Linked DNA regions of Homo sapiens: regions 1, 2, 3, 4, 5 and 6 are each linked to region 7. The links are contacts of gene promoters, found by promoter capture Hi-C in blood cells and fetal thymus (Javierre and others, 2016). All regions are on one chromosome and are shown on one strand. The core of a region is centred on a gene start or on the middle of the fragment in contact, and the rest is flanking DNA. Distances in the headings are between cores, read along the strand shown.

The links. The method cuts DNA at HindIII sites, captures the fragments that hold promoters and counts their contacts. A CHiCAGO score of 5 or more calls a contact.
Region 1: a contact is called between a fragment that was not itself captured here and the fragment with the promoter of HEPACAM2 in region 7, in 2 of 17 cell types (non-activated CD4 T cells and total CD4 T cells). The highest score is 5.3, in non-activated CD4 T cells.
Region 2: a fragment that was not itself captured here is called in contact with the fragment with the promoter of HEPACAM2 in region 7 in 2 of 17 cell types (neutrophils and non-activated CD4 T cells); the score reaches 7.0 in neutrophils.
Region 3: a contact is called between the fragment with the promoter of KRIT1 here and the fragment with the promoter of HEPACAM2 in region 7, in 5 of 17 cell types (fetal thymus, naive CD4 T cells, activated CD4 T cells and 2 more). The highest score is 8.5, in fetal thymus.
Region 4: a contact is called between a fragment that was not itself captured here and the fragment with the promoter of HEPACAM2 in region 7, in 6 of 17 cell types (fetal thymus, naive CD8 T cells, monocytes and 3 more). The highest score is 8.6, in fetal thymus.
Region 5: a contact is called between a fragment that was not itself captured here and the fragment with the promoter of HEPACAM2 in region 7, in 1 of 17 cell types (monocytes). The highest score is 7.4, in monocytes.
Region 6: a contact is called between a fragment that was not itself captured here and the fragment with the promoter of HEPACAM2 in region 7, in 1 of 17 cell types (total CD8 T cells). The highest score is 5.5, in total CD8 T cells.

Annotation. Positions count from the first base shown.
Region 1 is chr7:92,577,418-92,580,197 of GRCh38, forward strand. It overlaps FAM133B (family with sequence similarity 133 member B), which reads right to left. Exons shown (of 11, transcript NM_152789.4): 3 at 1,900-1,978; 4 at 902-976; 5 at 733-765; 6 at 238-300. Among named protein-coding and RNA genes, the nearest start is that of FAM133B, 12 kb to the right of the region's middle. The HindIII fragment of the contact is 2,000 bases long and covers 325-2,324 here.
Region 2 is chr7:92,596,627-92,599,379 of GRCh38, forward strand. The region is part of intron 1 of LOC105375397 (a long non-coding RNA gene); the gene reads right to left. Among named protein-coding and RNA genes, the nearest start is that of FAM133B, 7.6 kb to the left of the region's middle. RefSeq lists a silencer at 2,218-2,267. The HindIII fragment of the contact is 1,631 bases long and covers 663-2,293 here.
Region 3 is chr7:92,244,641-92,247,399 of GRCh38, forward strand. It overlaps KRIT1 (KRIT1 ankyrin repeat containing), which reads right to left and starts at 1,274. Exons shown (of 19, transcript NM_194454.3): 1 at 1,150-1,274; 2 at 262-531. ANKIB1 (ankyrin repeat and IBR domain containing 1) reads left to right here and starts at 1,334. Exons shown (of 20, transcript NM_019004.2): 1 at 1,334-1,879. RefSeq lists an enhancer at 1,155-1,449 and a silencer at 1,380-1,769. The HindIII fragment of the contact is 4,029 bases long and covers 1-2,741 here.
Region 4 is chr7:92,614,049-92,617,018 of GRCh38, forward strand. CDK6 (cyclin dependent kinase 6) reads right to left here. Exons shown (of 8, transcript NM_001145306.2): 8 at 1-1,238. The coding sequence ends at 1,092. Among named protein-coding and RNA genes, the nearest start is that of FAM133B, 25 kb to the left of the region's middle. The HindIII fragment of the contact is 2,246 bases long and covers 269-2,514 here.
Region 5 is chr7:92,633,876-92,636,725 of GRCh38, forward strand. The region is part of intron 5 of CDK6 (cyclin dependent kinase 6); the gene reads right to left. Among named protein-coding and RNA genes, the nearest start is that of FAM133B, 45 kb to the left of the region's middle. The HindIII fragment of the contact is 5,319 bases long and covers 1-2,850 here.
Region 6 is chr7:94,087,512-94,090,213 of GRCh38, forward strand. It overlaps LOC124901812 (a long non-coding RNA gene), which reads right to left and starts at 2,290. Exons shown (of 2, transcript XR_007060642.1): 1 at 1,658-2,290; 2 at 727-854. The HindIII fragment of the contact is 6,381 bases long and covers 1-2,702 here.
Region 7 is chr7:93,224,899-93,227,863 of GRCh38, forward strand. It overlaps HEPACAM2 (HEPACAM family member 2), which reads right to left and starts at 1,571. Exons shown (of 10, transcript NM_001039372.4): 1 at 1,470-1,571. The coding sequence starts at 1,548. The HindIII fragment of the contact is 7,149 bases long and covers 1-2,965 here.

The DNA of each region.
Region 1 (2,780 bases), core at 75-2,574, 650 kb before region 7:
ATTTTCTTCTACTGATATTTTTAGGTCAACAAAACAAATTTTAAAATCTAAAAAATATATTATATACCAATATTTAAGTTCCTAGTTACCACTCACTCATGTTAGTCCTCTAAGTTATGGATAATTAATCAAAACCTGGAAGTCAACATTTCTAACAGATATTTCACAATGGGTTTCCACTTGACATTAAAGAAATTAAGAGATATTATTTCATGAACCATTATAAGCAAACCTTACCTCATCTTCAGAATCAGAAGAACTGCTGGAAGAATCAGAGCTTGATGAAGAAGAAGATGAATACTTGACCAAGCACAAAACAATTAAAGCTTGTGAGATGCGAGAATGTTTTTCTTTTACAAAGTCTCTCAAATACTTAGTGAAATCAATCTAGTGTCTGAGAAACAGATGCCATATTCATAAGTCATAAATATGAAAATATAAAATGTCACACTTGTTCCCTGTACAAAAGCTCAACAAGTTAACATATGTGGCCATGGTCACCAATCTTTCTCTTTAAATAGCAACAGAAAATGTACTACGTTATAAGGTGGTTGGCACCGTTTTTTATGTCAGTGATAGAACAAAATCACTCTTCACAATCAAAGAACCTCTAAGTTCCTTGACTCATCTGGAGTTTAAGCTACCTTTAGCATACAGGTTAAACAAATTATTCTTACTTTTTTTGTTGGCTCTTAATTGTAACGTTTAGAAAAATGGAAAATTTTTGCTCACCCTACCAGATTTCTTCTTTTCTTTTTTCTTTCTCTAAATGGAAACAAAAGTACAAGTCTAAATAAGCTGATGTGAGTTTGCAAATGCATCTATTAACAGTAGTATACAGCATTATTATGAAAATCCAACTATGAGATTAAGAATAGCAATAAACTAAAAGTGGTATTACCTGTCTTTTTTTGGATGAGCTCTCACTTCCACTTAACAATTTCTCCCTGTGTTTTTCCAGTTCTTTCTTCCAGTTCTGCAAAAAGGTTATGAACACCATCAGAGACTATCTAACCTTTCCAATACACCTAATATACAGAGACAGCCACTGCTTCCTTCCCTCCATCCTCTTAATACCTCTCACCCATTTCAGCTTCTAATTACAGTCAAAAGAAACACAGGTGCCAATCCTTGACCCTATCACCAAAGGACCCTCTACTAGCTCTTTTCAAAGAGCATATTAAGGGATAGGGGTTCTGTATTATTGAGCAGCAGGCATTATTACTGAAGCTGAGGTCTCTTTTCAACAAAGATGGCTAGATTCTCCGTCTAGGCTGTAAAAGTTGAATTAATCATTACTGTGATTGATATGTTATATACATGTTTGTAATCAAAACAAGCAAACAGGCTGGGTATAATGGCTCACACCTGTAATCACAGTACTTTGGGAGGCTAAGGTGGGAAGATCGCTTGAGCTCAGAAGTTGGAGACCAGCCTGGGCAACATAGTGAGAACCTGTCTCTACTAAAGATAAAAAAAAAATTAGCTGGGCATAGTGGCCTGCAACTGTGGTCCCAGCTGCTCAGGAGGCTGAAGTAGGAGGACTGCTCAACCCTAACTTGGAATCCAAGTTATCTAAGTCTTAGATGACTTACATTACAAGATGATTCTTCTTCATTTTTTAAAGCATGCACGTAAATACAAACTTGTATTCACCATAACAATAACACTTCTAAAATACAGAACCTCTTTAACTGAGAGAGCTATGCCCAAATACTTAAGGTATTTTCTTTTTTTTAATGGAGACAAGGGCGGCGGGGGGGGGCCTTACTTTGTTGCCCAGGCTGGTCATGAACTCCTGGCCTCCCGTTTCGGCCTCCCAAAGTGCTGGAATTATAGGTATGAGCCACCATAACTGGCCAAATTAGTCTATTTTTTTAACAGGTACTTTTTACAAACCTCATTCATTTTTTCTTCAAATTCAGCCAAAGCCTTGGAGCCTTTCTTTTTCTTTTCTAGTTGCTCTTTTACTTCTTCCCTTAAAAAATAGAATGTACAAACAAAATTTCAAGCAATTCAAATTAGATAAATGCTTACAAATAAGACAACAAAATTTCATAAACTCTTCTAAATATTCTAATAGACTTCTATTCAATGTTGGTAACATTTCAATTTCTTTGTTCACGTTTATAAAAATAAATTACCATAATAAAGCTAAATAAATAACACTAATCACTCCTTTTCTAAATATGGATTATAAGAGCTAATACACCAAACATCTAAGCACTTACAACAGGCACTATTTAAAATACATTTTCATTTAATCCTCACAACGACCCTCTGAGAAAAGGTATGGATCCCCATTTTATAGATAAAGAAACTGAAGCTTGGAGAAGGTAAGAAATCCACCTAAGGTCATAAACCTGGTAGTTTTCAGTGTTAGGATGCCCTGAAATCTATCTGACTGAACTACTACATTCCATATATGACCCATTTAATAAGGTACCTAACATGCTGTGCAGAGAAGAGTTAATACAGCTCGCCTGACTGCTTAATCTTGGAAAGACATACTTAAAAGACTGGCCCTAGGTGGGCATCTGGGAACTTGAATTCGGAGGATTCTTACTATTCTCTGATAAGAGCAGATCATTGTTCCTAAAACTGTTTGTACAAACAATGTAGTTCAAGCTAAATACCTGTTTTCCTTCTGGGAAGCTGGAATTTTTTTTAAAAAGAGACAAGGCCTTGCTCTGTCACCCAAGCTAGAATGTAGTGGCATGATCATAGTTCACTGTAATCTTCAACTCCTGGCCTCAAGCAATCCTCCTGCCTCAGTATCC
Region 2 (2,753 bases), core at 228-2,727, 630 kb before region 7:
TTTTTTCACTTGGATTTCCAGACACTATGCTCACCTTCTGCTTCTCGTAAAGTCCACTTAGTCTCTGTTGCATATTTTCCTTCGTCTCCTGGGATATAAACACTGGGGCACTGTAGAGCTTGGCATATAAACACTGGGGCACTGTAGAGCTTGGTTCTGGGATCTTTCCTTTTTTTTTTTTTTTTTTTTTTTTTGAGACGGAGTTTCACTCTTGTTGCCCAGGCTGGAGTGCAATGTCATGATCTTGGCTCACTACAACCTCCGCCTCCCGAGTTCAAGCAATTCTCCTGCCTCAGCCTCCCTAGTAGTTGGGATTATAGGCAGGCGCCACCACGCTTGGCTAATTTTGTATTTTTAGTAGAGATGGGATTTCTCCATGTTGGTCAGGCTGGTCTTGAACTCCTGACCTTAGGTGATCCGCCTGCCTCGGCCTCCCAAAATGCTGGGATTTCAGGCATGAGCCAACGCACCCAGCCGGGATCTCTTCTTTTTATAGACACTTTCTTTCTTGTTGATCTCATCCAATCTCTAGCTTTATATGCCATCCATACACTGACAACTTCAAAACTTTTATTTCCAATCTAGACCACTTCCTTGGAATCTAGACTCATGCCTCTAACTGCCTAGTCAACATCCTCACTTCAGTGTCTCATATGAGCTCAAGCTTAACATGTCCAGTGTCCAACTCCCAATATTCTCCCTAAAACCAGGTCCTCCTACATTCTTCCCATCTCAGTAAATGGCAACTTGATCTTTCCACCTGCTTAAGCCAAAAACTTCAGAGACATCCTCACTTTTTTTTTTTTAGACAAAGTCTCACTCTGTCATCCAGGCTGGAGTGCAATGCTGTGATCTCAGCTCACTGCAACCTCCGCCTCCAGGGTTCAAGTGATTCTTGTGCCTCAGCCTCCCAAGTAGCTAGAATTACAGGCGCCCGCCACCACATCTGGCTAATTTTTGTATTTTTTCTTATTAGTAGATGGGCTTTCACATGTTGACCAGGCTGATTTCAAACTCCTGACCTCAGGTGATCCACCTACCTCGGCCTCCCAAAGTGCTGGGATTACAGGCGTGAGCCACCACGCCCAGCCCATCCACGCTTCTTCTCTTTCAATGCCATGTCTAATTTATAAGCACCTACTATAACCTTTACCTTCAAAACATCTTACATCTTGTTGTCTCCATTGTTTTCACTTTGATCAAAGCTACCATTATCTCTCATCTGGATTATTACAACAGCCTCCTAACCCAGGCTCCCCGCTTACATCTTTGCCACCCTAAAGTATTTTCTCAATAGAGCAGTCACAGTGGCTTTACAAACAGATCATATGTCACGACTGTGCTTCTTGCCTTCCGGCAGTTTCCCATCTTATTCAGAGTAAATACCAAAGTCTTTGCATTGGCCAAGAAGCCCCTCCAAGATATGCTTCTCCTGCCACTAACTTCCCTGGAATATCTCCTTTCTTTCTCTTGCAGTTAATTGCTGCTACACTGGCCCCCTTGCTGTTCTTTGGACATGGCAGGCATGCTCCTGCCTTAAGGCATTAGCACCTGTTGTTTTCTTCATCACTAATACACCTAGATTCCTCTTCTCTGTAAGTCCTTTGATCTAGTGTCACCTTCTCTATGAGGCCTTCACTGATCTCCTCGTTTAAAATTGCACCCCCATGACACTTTATATTCCTTTCCTCATTTCTTCCCACACATGTATCTAACATCCTAGTTTACTATAATTATTTATTTGTTGCCCCTCACTAGAAAACAAGCTCCATAAAAACAAGACATTTTGTGTATTTTGTTTACTGCCACATCCCCAGTGCCTAAGGACAGTGCCTGGCACATCACTGTGCTCAATAAATATTTACTAAATGAATCAATGACTAGTTTCACTGCCATATTGACTGGTCTGTTTGTACCTGTACCCACTGTCTTTGCCTGCCCTCCCATTAATCCTTTTCTCTCTCAAATCCAGCTCTTCCTCTTGTTCTCCTGGGCCCTTCCTCTCCCTCTTCTCATTACCTTTGCTTCTGCTGTTATTGCTTCTTTTTCACCCTCAATCTCTCTGTTTCCACAATGGACTGTCTTCCATCTCAGAAAACAAGAATTCTCCTTTGATACCACATCCTCCCTGAGCTCTACCTCCATTTCTCTGTTCTGCTTTATGATTCAGCTTCTCAAACAGGCTGTCTACATTCTCTACCTCTCTAACCTCATCTCTGACCACTCCTCCCCCGACTGACTATGCTCTAGGCTCACTGATGTCTTTTCTACATACCAAGCCTTCCTACCTTGAAGCTTTCAGCTGCTTTCCCCTGAGCACCCCACCTAGCTGCCTTAGTCTCATTCTTCATGCCTCAACTCTTTTGACAGGGCCTTTTCTGACACCAGTTTCCCATCTTCCAGCAGTTTCCCATCTTATTCAGAGTAAATACCAAAGTCTTTGCATTGGCCAATGCAAGTACTTTCTACCTTATAGCAATTTTAGCACTTATCATAATGTAATTATCCTATGCAAATATTTATGTTAGCTCCATGAGAGCAAGCACCTTGTTTTGTTCACTACTGTATTTCTAGGGTTTGCTGGTGCCTGGAACAGAAGTTCATTAAGTGTTGAATGAATGAATGTATGAGTTTCCAGTGATGAGATGACTTAAAGCTAGCTGCTGACATATGCAAATAAATATAAATGCATGCGCAGTACTGCCCTTAGAAGCACTGTTTCTTTCTTCTTCTTCTTTTTTTTTTTTTTTTTT
Region 3 (2,759 bases), core at 24-2,523, 980 kb before region 7:
AAGGGAGAAACACAGACAAACTGATAGAAAATGAGTAGCTTGAACTAAAATACAAGAAAGGTATAACTAGAGTTTGCAATATGTTTAGACTGAGTCTGAGATGAGGGTTCAAGTGAATAAGTACAGGAAACGTGGCATTTTGTTATATGGCTCACTCCATTCTGGAAAATGTTAGGCACAAATGATAATATGCTCCCTAAGTAATAAGATCTTATAAATAAAGCAGTGGAAGTGGTCCTTAATTAGGGGGGTGGCACCTACCTGGGATCACTGGAAAATATGGAGGGCATTTCTGGTTGTCACTATGACTGATGAGGGGAGATGTACAACTGCCATTTAGTGTCCATGGAACAGGTTTGCTAACATCCTCTTAGTATGCTAGACAGCGTTTGCAAACAGAAACTGTAAAGGCACATATGCACTCCAGAAGGGTAAGAAAATAATGAGGCTGAGATCCTGAGTTGGACCACCGAGATGAAAGACTTCTGGTGAGGCTAAAAACATGTAGAAAAAGCGATGAAAGCCAAAAACCTTAAAAGGTGGAGAAAAGTGTAGAGGCGAGAAGTGAGTTACAGGGGGAGAAGTGAGTTAGAATGACAAGCTGTGAATCCCTTTCCCTGCAATGACAAAAATACGTAATCACTCTGCCTGGGAGGTTTTTTCCTGCGCCACCACCCGTCAACGTCCACTACTGGGGAAAAACGTAAGCCTCTTTGCTCAAAGAGTTTCCACCCAAAAAGTGGCTATGGTTTCTCTGTAACTACATGTGAAAAATAAACTCCTTGCCTGGGGCAACTAGATGTGGAGATGGTTCAGTCTCCCACCTCCGTTTTCCCTCGCTGGAGTCGAACTTGCTCCTCCTGTTTCCCGAAGGACACCGAGAGGTCCCACCCGTACGGGCTGCCGCGAGTGCCTCTCTGGCCGCTACATTCAACTAAATGGGTGGGACAGTCACCTGGCGAGGGGGGGCAGGGACCGTCACCGCTTTCTCATTCCTCCTTCCCTCCTCCCAGGCACAGCAGCCCGGCCCAGCTTCCTGTGGCAGAAAAACCCTCAGTCGCCAAAAGAAAGCCGTCTTGAGGGTTCCCCCGCGCTCCCACCCGCGCCCCAAAAGCTCAGGTCTCTGGAGTCGGAGACCCTCCTGCCCACCTGCTCTTTACTGTCCTTCCCTCTCCTCGCACCTCAGCACCATTCACCCCTCACCCTCTCCCGAAACTACGGGGTCCCAGGTCTTCAAAGGCCTTAGCTTTCCACCCCGCCGTTACCGTGGCTATGAAATCGCTTCCGGGTTCACACCCTTTGCAGCCTCGCGGTTGGCGGTGAAAGAGCTTCCGGGTCGGCGGCCGGGCTGCTGCCGTTCCTGCTCCTTTTCACTGGACCTGCAGTCTCTCAGGGGCTGGTGGCAGGCGACTAGGAGACTAGGGTGGTGGCGGTGGGGGTGCCAGCGGCTGAGCCGGAGCCGGAGCCGGAGGCGGGGGAGGGGAAGAGGGCGGCCGGGGCTGCGAGCGCGCAAGGCTGGAACATGAGCCGGGCTTGACCGCGAGGCGGAGGCAAGAGCCACCGCCCCCTCTTCCCCTCCCCCGAGTGAGGCGGCGCAGCGGCCGGAGAGGGATGGGGGGCGCCCACCCAGTCTGAGCCTCGCCGCGGGCGCCTTCGGCTCACGCAGCGCTTCCCGCGGGCCGCCAGTGCGCACCCTCGGCCACATCAGCCTCCGCCTGGCGGGTGCACCCGGGCCGGCGAGGAAGGGGCAACCGTCCGGGTGGGTGGGGCGGGCTGGGTACCTGAGGTCACCAGCTCGGCTGTAGAGGCAGGGGCGGCGGAGGCGGAACTGCGGAGTTGCTGGGTCCACCGACCCTTACCCTCAGCGAGAGAAGTAACCGTAAGTCTCAGCTTCGCGGTACAGATGTGTTTGAGGCTGCCTCTACCCATTTGTGGCTCCGAGTTCAGAGCTACCTACTTCACACCCTCCCGGATCTACTAGGAGTGTGTCTGTCGCCTGTTTTGGAGCATTGTTGTTCTGTCTGTCCCCATCCCTGAACAGGCAGCATTCTCTGCCCTACAGGGCTTTTCTCCCAGCGAATTTGCAAGCCTCCGGGTCTCCGTGACGCGTCCCATCCTCCCCATCTGGATGCATCTCCTTGTCCCTCTGTCCTCAAAGGATCTGTGTCCTTCCTCGCAGCCTCCCCCCCACCCCCATCCTTTGAGACGTGGAAAGCCACGGGTTCTGCCGACCTCGGGGGCTAGAGAGAGTCTTGAGAAGCGGATGGGTAAAAGTGCTCTGCAGGGCTGTGATGGGTGGGGATAGGTGCAGATGGCTCCAGTGAACCTTTATTTTTGCAGCTTCTGCCACCAAAACAAAAGAATGGAGCGCTCCCCTGTATTCTTATTCTTCTCCGTATGTATGAGCTGTTTTTCTGTACGTAGCTGTTTGAGTCGCAGGAAATTGAAACTAGAGCTGTAATAAAGCATCTCCTGAGGAGATTTTGAGAATTAGTCTCCCAAGCTCTATTCACACGGAATGGCATATCGAACAATCTTGTATTGGAATGACCATTTCAGAAGAGCTTTACTGGTAGATCTGACAGATAAATGTAAAGATAAGAGTCTGCTGTTTCAAATAGTGTATTTTAGATACCTTTAAATTTTAGTGTTCTAATTTTCATCTAGTTCTTAATTTGTGAAGTATGTGGGTATGTGTAAGGTGTAAAAATCTGTGTATTGGAAGGTTTTGCTTTGTTACAAGCTTTTGCTTTGTTGCT
Region 4 (2,970 bases), core at 142-2,641, 610 kb before region 7:
AGTGTGTGGCAGAAAGTACAGTGTAATAGATGAGGAAAATTTCAAGGCCACTCCTGTCTCTAGTTAGAGAGAACTACTCTCCAAACCAAAACAGGAAAGAGTTTCTGACAAATTCCTAAAAACAAAAACAAAATAACAACAACAAACAACAATAACAACAACAAAAAAAGGGAAGAAAGGAATTTCAAACCAGGAAATAAAGGCTTTCTATTCTTTTTTTTAAAATCTATCTGAGGTACACTCCCTAAACCTATAGCAAGTAATAAAAAGCTTACAGGCTATTTTCCAAAAGAAATGATAAAGCATGATGTCATACAGAAGGTTAAAATAGACTTACAACAAGTAAATTCAGCATTCTGAAGACTAAATAGAATGCATGCACATCTCTTAAAATATACTAGAATTTTTTCTCCTTTTTGCTGTGTGTATAAAACTTCATCTTTTACTGCTAGCAAATTTACTGCTTTTGGCCAGAAAAGAAATGCTGAGGACATGGGGTTAACTTTCTAATTTGAGAAGACTATTTTGGTGAATCACCTTCAGTGAACAAATGCCTGTTATTTACTGACCACCTTGAGTCTTTAAAATTGAATTATTCTTGTCGTTTACAAAAAGTAACACTTTAAAAGATCACAGAATCTCTCACATACACACACACACACACACACACACACACACACATGCACACACACACTCAAAAGTACCAAATCAGGCCCGGCAGCTGCAGAGAGATTACATCATAACTCAGCTGTGCCTGGATTACCCACTCCACACTGGCAGCATTCAAGGTTAGAAAAATCAAATGGCAGCACAATTGGTCAGCAGCTTCTCTTCTTCTGGAATTTTTCCAGGTTCTTGAAACAAACAGACAAACAAACAAACAAATGAACATAAAGCTGCAATCACTCTTGCATTGATTTCAAAACAGTAAACTAGGCGGTTTCCTTGGAGAAGCAGAGCCTGTCCAGAAGACAGCAGCTGGAAGGCCTCCAGATAGCAATCCTCCACAGCTCTGTAGGGCTTGCTGAGGGGGACCCATAAGCCACCAAGGGTGTTCTCCGCAGGATCAGCTTAAGGCGGCTGCTGAGGCCTCAGGCTGTATTCAGCTCCGAGGTGTTCTGGCTGGGCGGCAGGTGGGAATCCAGGTTTTCTTTGCACCTTTCCAGGTCCTGGAAGTATGGGTGAGACAGGGCACTGTAGGCAGATATTCTTTTGGCTGGGTTAAATGTCAAACACTTCTGTAATAAAGAAAAAAATAATTGGTTGATATACAATACATCAATGTAAATAATGTACTTACAGAGTTATCCCTTTATTCACTGTCATATGTTAAGCGCATCTACAGTGGGAATGAGTATTTATTTAAAGGGACACTAAATAATATGGAGACAGTACTCATATATATCCCTAATGTATAAAATGTCCCTCAGGAGAAGACCCTTTTGGGTGCCTATGGACTGTTTCCTGCCCAGGATTTCTCACTAAGCCATTAAAGTATGCATATAACTTTATTTAGTAATTCTTCCAGTGCTAGCAAACTTAGTGCTACAGTCGGAGACTTCACCGTAACTTATTATCCTGCCTCAAGGCTACACCACTCAGAGGCAGGGCTATCTTCCTTTTAATTAATACCAAGGTGCCACATGGCTAGCAGTAGCTCTCTCAGGGGACCATTAGATTCAGTTCGAGTCACTAAACTCTATTCCAGGCTGACAGCTCAAGTGTAGGGCTACCAAGGTGAATGAGCTGGTGCCTGCGCTTAAGAAGCTCCTGGTCCTAGTCAAGTGGTTTGGGCAGTTTGGCTGAGCTACTGAGGTAGAAGGTGAAAGGAGGGAAAGGGAAACCTTTGCAGTAGCAGCAATCTCTATTCCCAAACTGTCCATACCTAAATTAGTTAGAATGTGTCCCTAATTTCAGTCTCATTTCCACCCCTACCTCAGGTAATCTTGTTACTCAAATCCTCCTCCTCTCCTTCCATCAACGCCTCCTGCTGGGTGCCTAGCAGGTGGCAAGCACTAATTAGTGATGAGTAAGACCTCCTCATTGCCACAGGAGCTCACAAGTAGCAGGGAAGCCACACTGGCTTCTCCATCCTAAAGTGAACTGGGTATATGAAATGTCTATGCATTCCAGTCTTCTATGTAATTTACAGACTTCACATTATCATGGTTAATGGAAGACCTCTTCCACTTAAGAGGTCTGCATAACCATGATATTAATAGGACTCCTGCTCACAGTCCTAGTCAGGTTCCAACTGGATTAGGGACCTCTCTAATATTCTATCGAAGGCTACTGACCTAGAAAAACAAATACAAACAGAAAGTTCTATGTGTAATTTCAGGCAAATTCTTGGGTCCTCTGAAATCTGATTTATCCTGAGATCCCCATCAGTCCATGGTTGCTAGCCTCCCTATAGGATCTTCTGAACATCAAGAGCTAAAGGGCAAGTGGAAGAAAGAGCTTGTCTGTAGAAAGGTTCCAACTGTCTCTAACAGCAAGAAACATCTCTAGAAAAGCTTTGCAAGGGCTGAATTCCCAAAGGACCGGAAAGCAGGGGCAAAATTCCTGAGCCTGAGTTCTCTTTTCCCAGAGCCCAAGAAGGAGAAAATTAGGTAGTGGCATTTAATCTCCAGGACATAGGAAAGAAGAGAAAAGAGCTGTGGGAATACATTCACAATACAGAGACATGTCTCTAGAGGATTATGTGAGAGGAAGCCCTTTCCTCACAGCTACACTGATGGCTTAAAGCTGGGAAGAGGGTGGAGAGAAGGAGAACACCTTAGCCAAATGTGGGGGTGTGGGAGAATCTCACGTTGGAAGTCTTAATACATTTTGTCCTATAGAAATATGGTTAAAAAAAAGGTGTTTAAGTTCTATTATTGCTCTACTTCAGGAACAAGGTTGCCAGGTTGAGGGTTAATTAAAAAACTTTGTGTTAATAATATTGTTTCTGCAAGAAAATTTAGTTTA
Region 5 (2,850 bases), core at 174-2,673, 590 kb before region 7:
TGTAGTGTAGCTACAGTGGGGTGTGCTAGTGGCTTTCCAATTAATTTTAAGAGCTCTTTTATTCATTAAGGATATTACACCTTTGTCATATTCATTCATTTTCTCCAAGATTATCACATGCTTTTTAACTTGGCAGTGTTTTTATTTTCTGATGAACAAAAGTTTTCAATTTTTATATAATCAAATATATTAGTATTTTTGTTTGTGACTTCTTAATGCTTTGAAAATATATCTCCATTCTAGGGTCACAGATACTTCCTATAGTTTCTTTATTCTTTTATGGCTTCACTTTTAATATGTAACTCTTTAAGCCATCTGTCATTTGCTCTGTGGTGAGGAATAGTGAGAATCTAATCAGGTTACCATTTTTCCCCCATGAAATTGACCAATTACCCTATTCTCATTTGTTGCATATGCCGTTCTGTCCTCCCAGATTTGTGATTTATGATAAATTGCATCACTTCCTAAATTAGGGTTTCAAGTCTCATTCTCTATTCTGTTCCATTAATGTCTGTCACTTCTGCTGGTACCACATTATTTTTATTACTGTAGTTGCATAATGTATTTTAGTGCTTGGTAGCAGGAGTTTCTCTTCATAACTTTTTTTTTTTGGTAACAAAAAATTCTTGGCTATTTTCACCAGTTTAACTCTTCCAAATGCATTTCAGGAAATCCCACTGGAATTCTGACTGGAGTTGCATAAACCTATGAATTAATTTGGAAACCTTTTATATCCTTACAACTATTCAATCTTCCTGTTCAGGAAAATGGAATATTTAATATCTTTCTAATAATCAAATATTCTCTATATCTAGGAAAGTCATTTTTATGTATCTCAATCAAGTTTTATAGTTTTCTTGATATGGGTTCTACACATTGACTTACATCCATCTACATTTTTGATTTTTATACTGGGAATGAGATGGAGCTGCTGCTAACTCTGGAGAAACTTACTGCTGATCTTTTATCTTTGGACATGATCCTGACTGTTCTCCTAAGTGATGGATTATCTTAGATTTGAAAAGTATAGGAAGTAAAGGACAAGAGGGACATGTGGGGGGATGTAGTAGAGTCTGTTTTATATTCATAGTGAGAAGACTCTGAACCTCCCAGGAGGGCTCTAAAGGTTAAAAAACATGCAACCAAAAGCACCGAGGATTAGTAAAAAGAAATAATGTGCAGTAAGTGCTCAGAGGGATGACTCATTGCATTGGATCATCTTTGGGAAACCACCTACTAAGCAGAATTTAGCAGCTAAAGCGTTATTTTTGGTGCACAGTTTATTGCTACTTCCTCTTGGGAAAAAAAGATTAATCCTAGCTCCCTAAAACACTTAAGAATGGTCACCCTGGCAAACCGGCCTGTCAGGTAACAATGTTGTTTCCAGATCAGGGCAGTGTTAGGTTCCCTGTAGGGATTTCTTCAGAACAAGGGAGAAGCACTTTACCACATGTTATGGAAAGGAGTATAGACCAGGAGACAGAAGATCCAGCTCTTAGTGCTGGCTCTGTAACTGATTAACAAATAAATCCCAGAGTGCAGGCAGGCCACTTAATCTCTGCTCATCTGCTAAAAAACAGATATCACAGCTTCTGTCGTACTCCATATCATGGAAGAAAATAACACAAAATAATAAACCATGTGAATGAAGCAGTTAAAACTGCTGAGAAATAAAATTAACCTGCTCAGTAAAAGTAAGGCTACCAATCAAGAACAAATAGAATGAACTGTTACTCGTTCCAAAGTTATTTATTTTTGCTTAATACTGTATTTCCTTCTCCTTTTTCTCTGTCCTGTGGTTTCTTTTCCTTGTTTCATTATGACTAAATATGCAAGGAAAATTCAATGCTGTTATTTTGGTCCTATCTTTGGCCCAAATCTCTAGATTTAATTTACCCATGATACCGTGCTGTGCTATTTAAAAAGATCACTAAGAAAACTTTATAGATGATGAAGTTAGGAAAATGACAAATAAGGGGATAAATGCGTTTCCTTATTTAGGTGAGGACTATGGCTGAGAAGATTCTGTAACTTAGACATAGTCAGGGACGTGATAAGAGCAGGAGCTGTAATCAGTTTTGCTAATCATGATTTCTAAACAATACTATTTTATCAAGTATTTAAATGCAATCTATCCGTAGCACATTTAAAAAAAAGTTATAAGAAATATTTTTAAATTTGTTATTATTATTATTTTTTGAGACAAGATCTCATTCTGTTGCCCAGGCTGGGGTGCAGTGAAGTGATCTCAGCTTGCTGAAGCCTCCATTTTCTGGGTCAATCATTCACCCACCTCAGCCTCCTGAGTAGCTGGGACCACAGGGGCATGCCACCACACCAGGCTAATTTTTGTATTTTTTGTTTTGTAGAGACAGGGTTTTGCCATGTTGCTCAGGCTGGTTTCGAACTCCTGAGCTCAAGCGATCTGCTGCCTTAGCCTCGCAAAGTGCTGGGATTACAGGCGTGCACCACTGTGCCCAGCCAACACAAATATTAAGGTCAACTTCTGGTTTCAGTACAAACTATTTAGTTTATTTATGAAGCAAATGAACTTACAAGAATGAGAAGGCTGAGGGGATATGATTATATATAAGATCCATTTGCATTATACATTCTCTAGAGAGGTACAACTCTCTGTCATATTTTTGATTTTATAACTATAAGAGAAAAATATCACCGGCAAAGGCTTTATGTCACTCATAAGAAATGAAACAGCATTTGATAAAAAACAGCATGTACAGGAATAAATAATTACATTTTGGTAAAAATATATGTTAAAAAAGATAAAATATTTATGAAATATGTTTTCTTCTTCCCCTGAGACGGAGTGCCCAGGCTGGAGTGCAGTGG
Region 6 (2,702 bases), core at 91-2,590, 860 kb after region 7:
GTGTTTGATATTTTTGCAGCTTTGAAATCCAATTTAAAAAAAAAGAAAAAGAAAGAAAGGGGCCTCAAAAAGTTACCACCCTCTTCCCCATGCACACTTTCCAACTCCATTCCTCGCTTTTAAGTTAGGGGAGCTAACTTTTGTTGCGTACCTACTAAGTGCTGCATCTGAAACTCAGCTATACCAAGGTTTTCTACCCGGAAAGACAGAAATTATCTCCTACTCAATTCTATATTAGAAATCTGAGCTTCACTAGATAATTTAGCCAAAGCCATAGTTTGTTTGTTTGGAGTGAAGGAGGCAGCGAACACTGCCAGTCAAAAAGTACCTCTCCCAGGGAGCCTATTTAGAAACAAAAGTGAAATCTAATTCACATTCACATAACCATAACCGCAATCGATCCTGTAGGTGGAGAGCGATTTTAGCAATAGTGACACCTTGTGGCATTATCTGCCATGGCTCATTAGCCAGGAAGGCTAAAAGAGATTCCTTTCCAGACAAGTCACCCACTGAAAGCGGTGGAACCAAAGTGAAGAGTGCTGAGAATTTTGCAGGGTTATCATTTTGTTTTTTCTGAAATAACCTGAGATAAAAGCAGCAGAGCTGTCTTTTTTTCCTCCTTTTCTCTTATCCTTAGTTCTTTTCTTAGATTCCTATGATAAACTAAGAAGCAAGGAAGTATACATTTATATCCTACTCCACCTATATCCAAAACAAAATAGTCCATTTTAAATGCAAAGGTGACTGTTTATTATACAAAACACTAATGGCCTTAATTTCCATGGGACTTGCAGTTTCTGGGAGGTTCTCTGTATATTCTTTTCTTGTGTTTTCAGAGAGACTTCAGATGCTGCCTAATAAGAAGAAAAAACAAACACATTTTTCTAAAGCAGCCAAAGTGCTTTTAGGCTCTTAGAAGATAACAGGGCTGCTGTCAAGTCATTTGAAGAGACATCTGGAAGGCAATTTTACAAAGATGAGGGAAAATAGGAAAGCCAAAACTGGACAATAGAGTAGAGAAAGAGGAAGTTAAAAAAAAAAAAAGGACTTTTACCAGCCTTTTATTGTAAGACCAAGGACATACACTGGATTCTCAGATTTCACAAGAAGCCAAAACATTGTTTAAAACTTCCATTTGAAATTCTAGAGTGGAGAATTAAGGATGCATGTGAACTTGTTGCAGATTTTCAGGGGTTAAGGCAGTGGGGAGAGAAAAGGTTTAAATTATGCAGAGGCACCATGACTCAGAAGGCAAAATAAAGAAGTGGAAAATGAATGTTTGTGACTTCCACTTATGTCATGCTGCAGGCACATCAACTCTCTGAGCTTCTGTTATGCTACCCACAGAAAAGAGATAAATACCTAGAGGGAGGCAGGACAGTCACAAAAAAGACCAACTCTAAAGCCCTTTGTTTAGCTTGGTGACCTGGTAACTGCACCTGTGCCCTGTCTCCTTGGTTGACAGGGGATAAAGATGGTGATGGGAGCTCAGAACAAGGGAAAAAGAAAATAGGACTTAAGGGAGACGTAGAAAGGTTCGGAATGAAAGAATGGGATTAAGGGAAGGAAGCAAACAAGCAAGGAGGCTTTGTGAGTACTGTCAGAGACAAGAGACCAATGAAACTATTTTCTCCAAGTAAGTCTTGCTTCCAATTACCTGTAGAGAAATCTGTCCTCAACATCCCTGGATGAAGTGGCCGGGGGCAGTGAGCAGAGGAAGTTGAGCAGGGATTCCATGTTTCTGAACTGTTTCTCATATTCTTTTTTTCCACTAGAATATTCTTCCAACTCTCATCTCTCATTCAAAACCTTAACTTGTCTCTCTAGTAGCACCTCACATGACTAGTAAGCCCTTTCGAAGGGGTATGCACACCATTGGATACCCCTTCTCAATAATGGCTTGGCAAACACTGCAGAGCACCCACTGTGCACCAGACACGCCAGCAGCACCTGGATGCAAAGGATGAAGTCACAATCCCCTCAGCCCTCCAATTAGCAGCTCACTCAAGAATGCTCTGAATCTCCTTCCCATTCTACATCACTGCATCTCTCTTGCTGTTCTTACTACTGTTATTGGAAACAATTGCTTTCTTCCCAAGACAGGTCCTAAACTACACTGGGGTAGAGACAGTGTTTCCATCTTTGCATCTCTCTCTGTGCTGTCCCAAAGCCATTGCACACAGCAGATGCCTCCTGAATAAATGATCATGTATTTGAGTTGAATGCCTGACTGACTGTGAGGTTAGGACTTGTTGCTTCCATTCCCAAAGTGCTACGCTCCAACCTAGTGAGATAGAGGTAGTGATTTTCTCATTGGCTTGTGGCTAGGGAAGGCTAAGGTTCAGCCAGCAAAGAGATTTAGCAGGAGGGCCAGCCAAAAGAGTGCACCAGGAAAATGGAGGTCCGTGAGTAGATAACATCAGATTGGTTAGGAGGCAAAACAGAAAGCGAAGTGGACCCAACCATCCCACCACAAGTGTCCCGCCTGCCCTCGAGCTAGATCTGAACATTCCTTTATTCTTCCTGTCTCCAAACCTATTCCTCATGCCCTAGCCCCTCTGGGCAGCTCTTCTTGGTGGAGTAACAACAGCTGCTATTCTAAGTACAGGAAGCTGTCTTGTAAACAGTAATTTGTTCATATCAAATGTGTAGGACTAGAAACAAGGTAATACATGATAACTTTAATTAACACATTCTCAGAT
Region 7 (2,965 bases), core at 321-2,820:
AAAAGAAGAAGCAAACAAAACTTCAATATTCCTAAAAGCAAAGATTGCCAAGTCATCTGTGGTCTTTACAACACACTGCCTATGGAGAAAAGCAAATTTGCAGAAGAGAGAAGGTCTTAAGGTATAAAAACTGCTTTAGCTATTTATGAACATGCTATTTTCCTAATGTACATTTGTTTTATTTTAGTTGAATTCCTTAACTAAATTGTCTCTAAGTTCTTCTTAACGCCAGTTTCAAAAACAACACTTATAAAATGATAGTAGTCCTACTGTTTTAAATATAAAAATAAGTGGGATGATGACCCAGGATACTTTCAAAAGGAAGACAAATGCACAAAGGTAGTGACAGTTATAATAATTATTTACTTTTTCAAAAAATTTTAGAAAACAAAAATCTATTATAGGCTTAAATTTGATAACATAAATACTGTGATAACTGGAACAATCACAACTCTGGGAAACTCAAAGACTTAAAAAAATTTACAAACTGTACATTTCAAATGTGTGAGATAGGTACAACAGTAGGTATGAATTTGAATAATAACATTTACAATGCAAACTTTAACAAAATATAGGAGTGAAAGTAAAGCTCTAAATAGCTGAAGAAGCCTAAAAGTTAAATTGCTTATTTTGCTAAGCTGTTCTTAATTTTTAAAAAATGTAGCCTTAATTGAACTCCTATCTGTTGAATATAAACAAAACAAGAAATTGATTTGACTTTTAAAACTGATAAATAGGAAGAATGGAAATGAGAACATCTGGTGAAAATAATGTTGACAGACAGCAGTTGGAATGCTGGAAAGAGACTCCTTTAAACTCAAAAGATAAAGAGGAGAATGAGGGAAAATATTAAGGTAGAAAAAAATTCTTAATAGGACTAGCCATTGGGCAAAGAGAAAAGCTAAAGGCATTTTGGAGTAACAATCTTTTCAAATACGTTCTCCCTTTTGTGTAGGAAATTTTTTTGTTAGTTTGGAATCTTACCTTTCTTCCATATTTCATAAGATGAGACAGATAACTTAAAACGAAGCAGTAAACAGTTTGCAACAATATCTTTAATTAAAAAGAAAACAATTTTCGTAAATTATTTGTAGTTTCACTCTAAGTGGTCACAATTTCATGGCCTATTAGAATATTTGCTGAAATAAATGCATTAAAGACTATTGAACCTATATGTAAACTCTAAAAGAAGAAATTCATTATCTTTTAAAAATATCTGAATTATCTTAATGAGTGCTATGACAATAATTGTTGTTCCAAGAAAACAATAACAATCTATTTATTGAAACTCATTTCTCTTAAATGTTCCTGCTTCTTTGCTGTAACAGTGTGTTATTGTTAAAAGGTTCTGACCTGCTCTTCAATTATCTGAATGCATCTACAGCCTAAAGCAAATATTTACCTTATGTCCACAATTAAAAAAAAAAAACCTAACAAACAGCTAAAACACAATTCACACAGGGCCTTACCGAAGAGAAGGAGGTATATTTTGCACTGAAAGACCCCAAGTGTGTCACCGAAGGGCTCCATGAAAGCATCCTGTCCCATGCATGCAGTGCCCTGTTCTCAGTGGTAACTTGGACCAGCAGCTGCTGGTTTATTTGCTAGGGAAATTAGCAGTGAGGTAACAGACCCTATCTTGCCTCTTGCTTCTGTGATTTGAATACAGAATGAATGTGTATACAAAGGACACAGGGAGTGGGAACACCTGTTATGTGCTTAGCAAGAATACAGGCTTATGGCTTTCAGAAGAGTTTCTTAGCAACTACCAGTAATTGTCTATATATTTCATAAATTATACTTAGTTATTAAAAAATCACATGAAGGAAAACATCCTTTTGCGTGACTTTACTGAAAAATGGCATGTTTTCATAATGAAAGAATATTGTGAGATTTCCTTAAAAACAAAAGCTGGTTTTCTATCATGCAGAACTATGCCATTATTATTTTAAAATTAAAAAAAATTATATGAAAATTGAAGTAGCTCATGTATCTGCTAAACAGTTATAAATCTTCATGAAGTCACTAACATGTAAAAATTCTACCAATGAATCAAAAGAGAGATCCAGAATATATTTAAAACGTATTTTTTCTATGCAGTGTTTCCTATTACAATGACTGATTTCATTTAATCTTTGAATTCATCTTATTTTTAAAAGCAAATCACAGGTGTGTTTCCAACTGGGACTGAGGCATGGACCATGCATAATTATAATGAAAAGTGCATGCCAGGAGATAGTATCTGAGGCCACATTTTCACAGCTGATGCATAGAGGAAGTGAACCAATGATCTAGAAAAGATCTTACCTCTACTGCAGTGTCCAGGTTACAGGTTTTCAACCTGGTCTCTCCATTGTCATGGCAGCAGATAGTCTAAGCATGTCCGCTTAATTTACTAAGTTATTAGTTAACCCCTATTTGCAAGAAGGCTCTGGTTCTAGCCTTGTTATATAAAATGTTAAGGATATATCCAAATCTGCATCAAATCATCAAATCAAGGAAAATTCCTTGCATGCATCAGTTTTAACAGTAAAGGCCCACTGAAGAAGTTCAATGATAAGAGGGGAAGGAAGACTATACCTCAAGCATAATTAAAGTAAAAAAGGAATGATAGTAACTTTGGAATCCAAGTTTGGAAACACTCTTTGCATTAGGGCTCTGAACTCTTCTAGAAGGACTTCTATAAGCAAAGAAAGTAAGTGACTATTGGGAAAACGAAGTCCTCTTCAGAGATCAGTCACTTTCAGATCCCTCCATGCTTCAGAAAAATGGCAAGAGCTCCTCATGCTTCCCCCACCTCCCTGCAAAATAATAACAATGCCACAACTTTCTCTGCACTGTCTCTAAATCTGGTACACACATCTATTGCAGCACTTATCTCCTTAATCTTTATTTTATTGGATGTTTATTTTCCCTCTGAGCTCTCGAATACAGAGAATAATCTTATTCATTCATGGATGTTGGG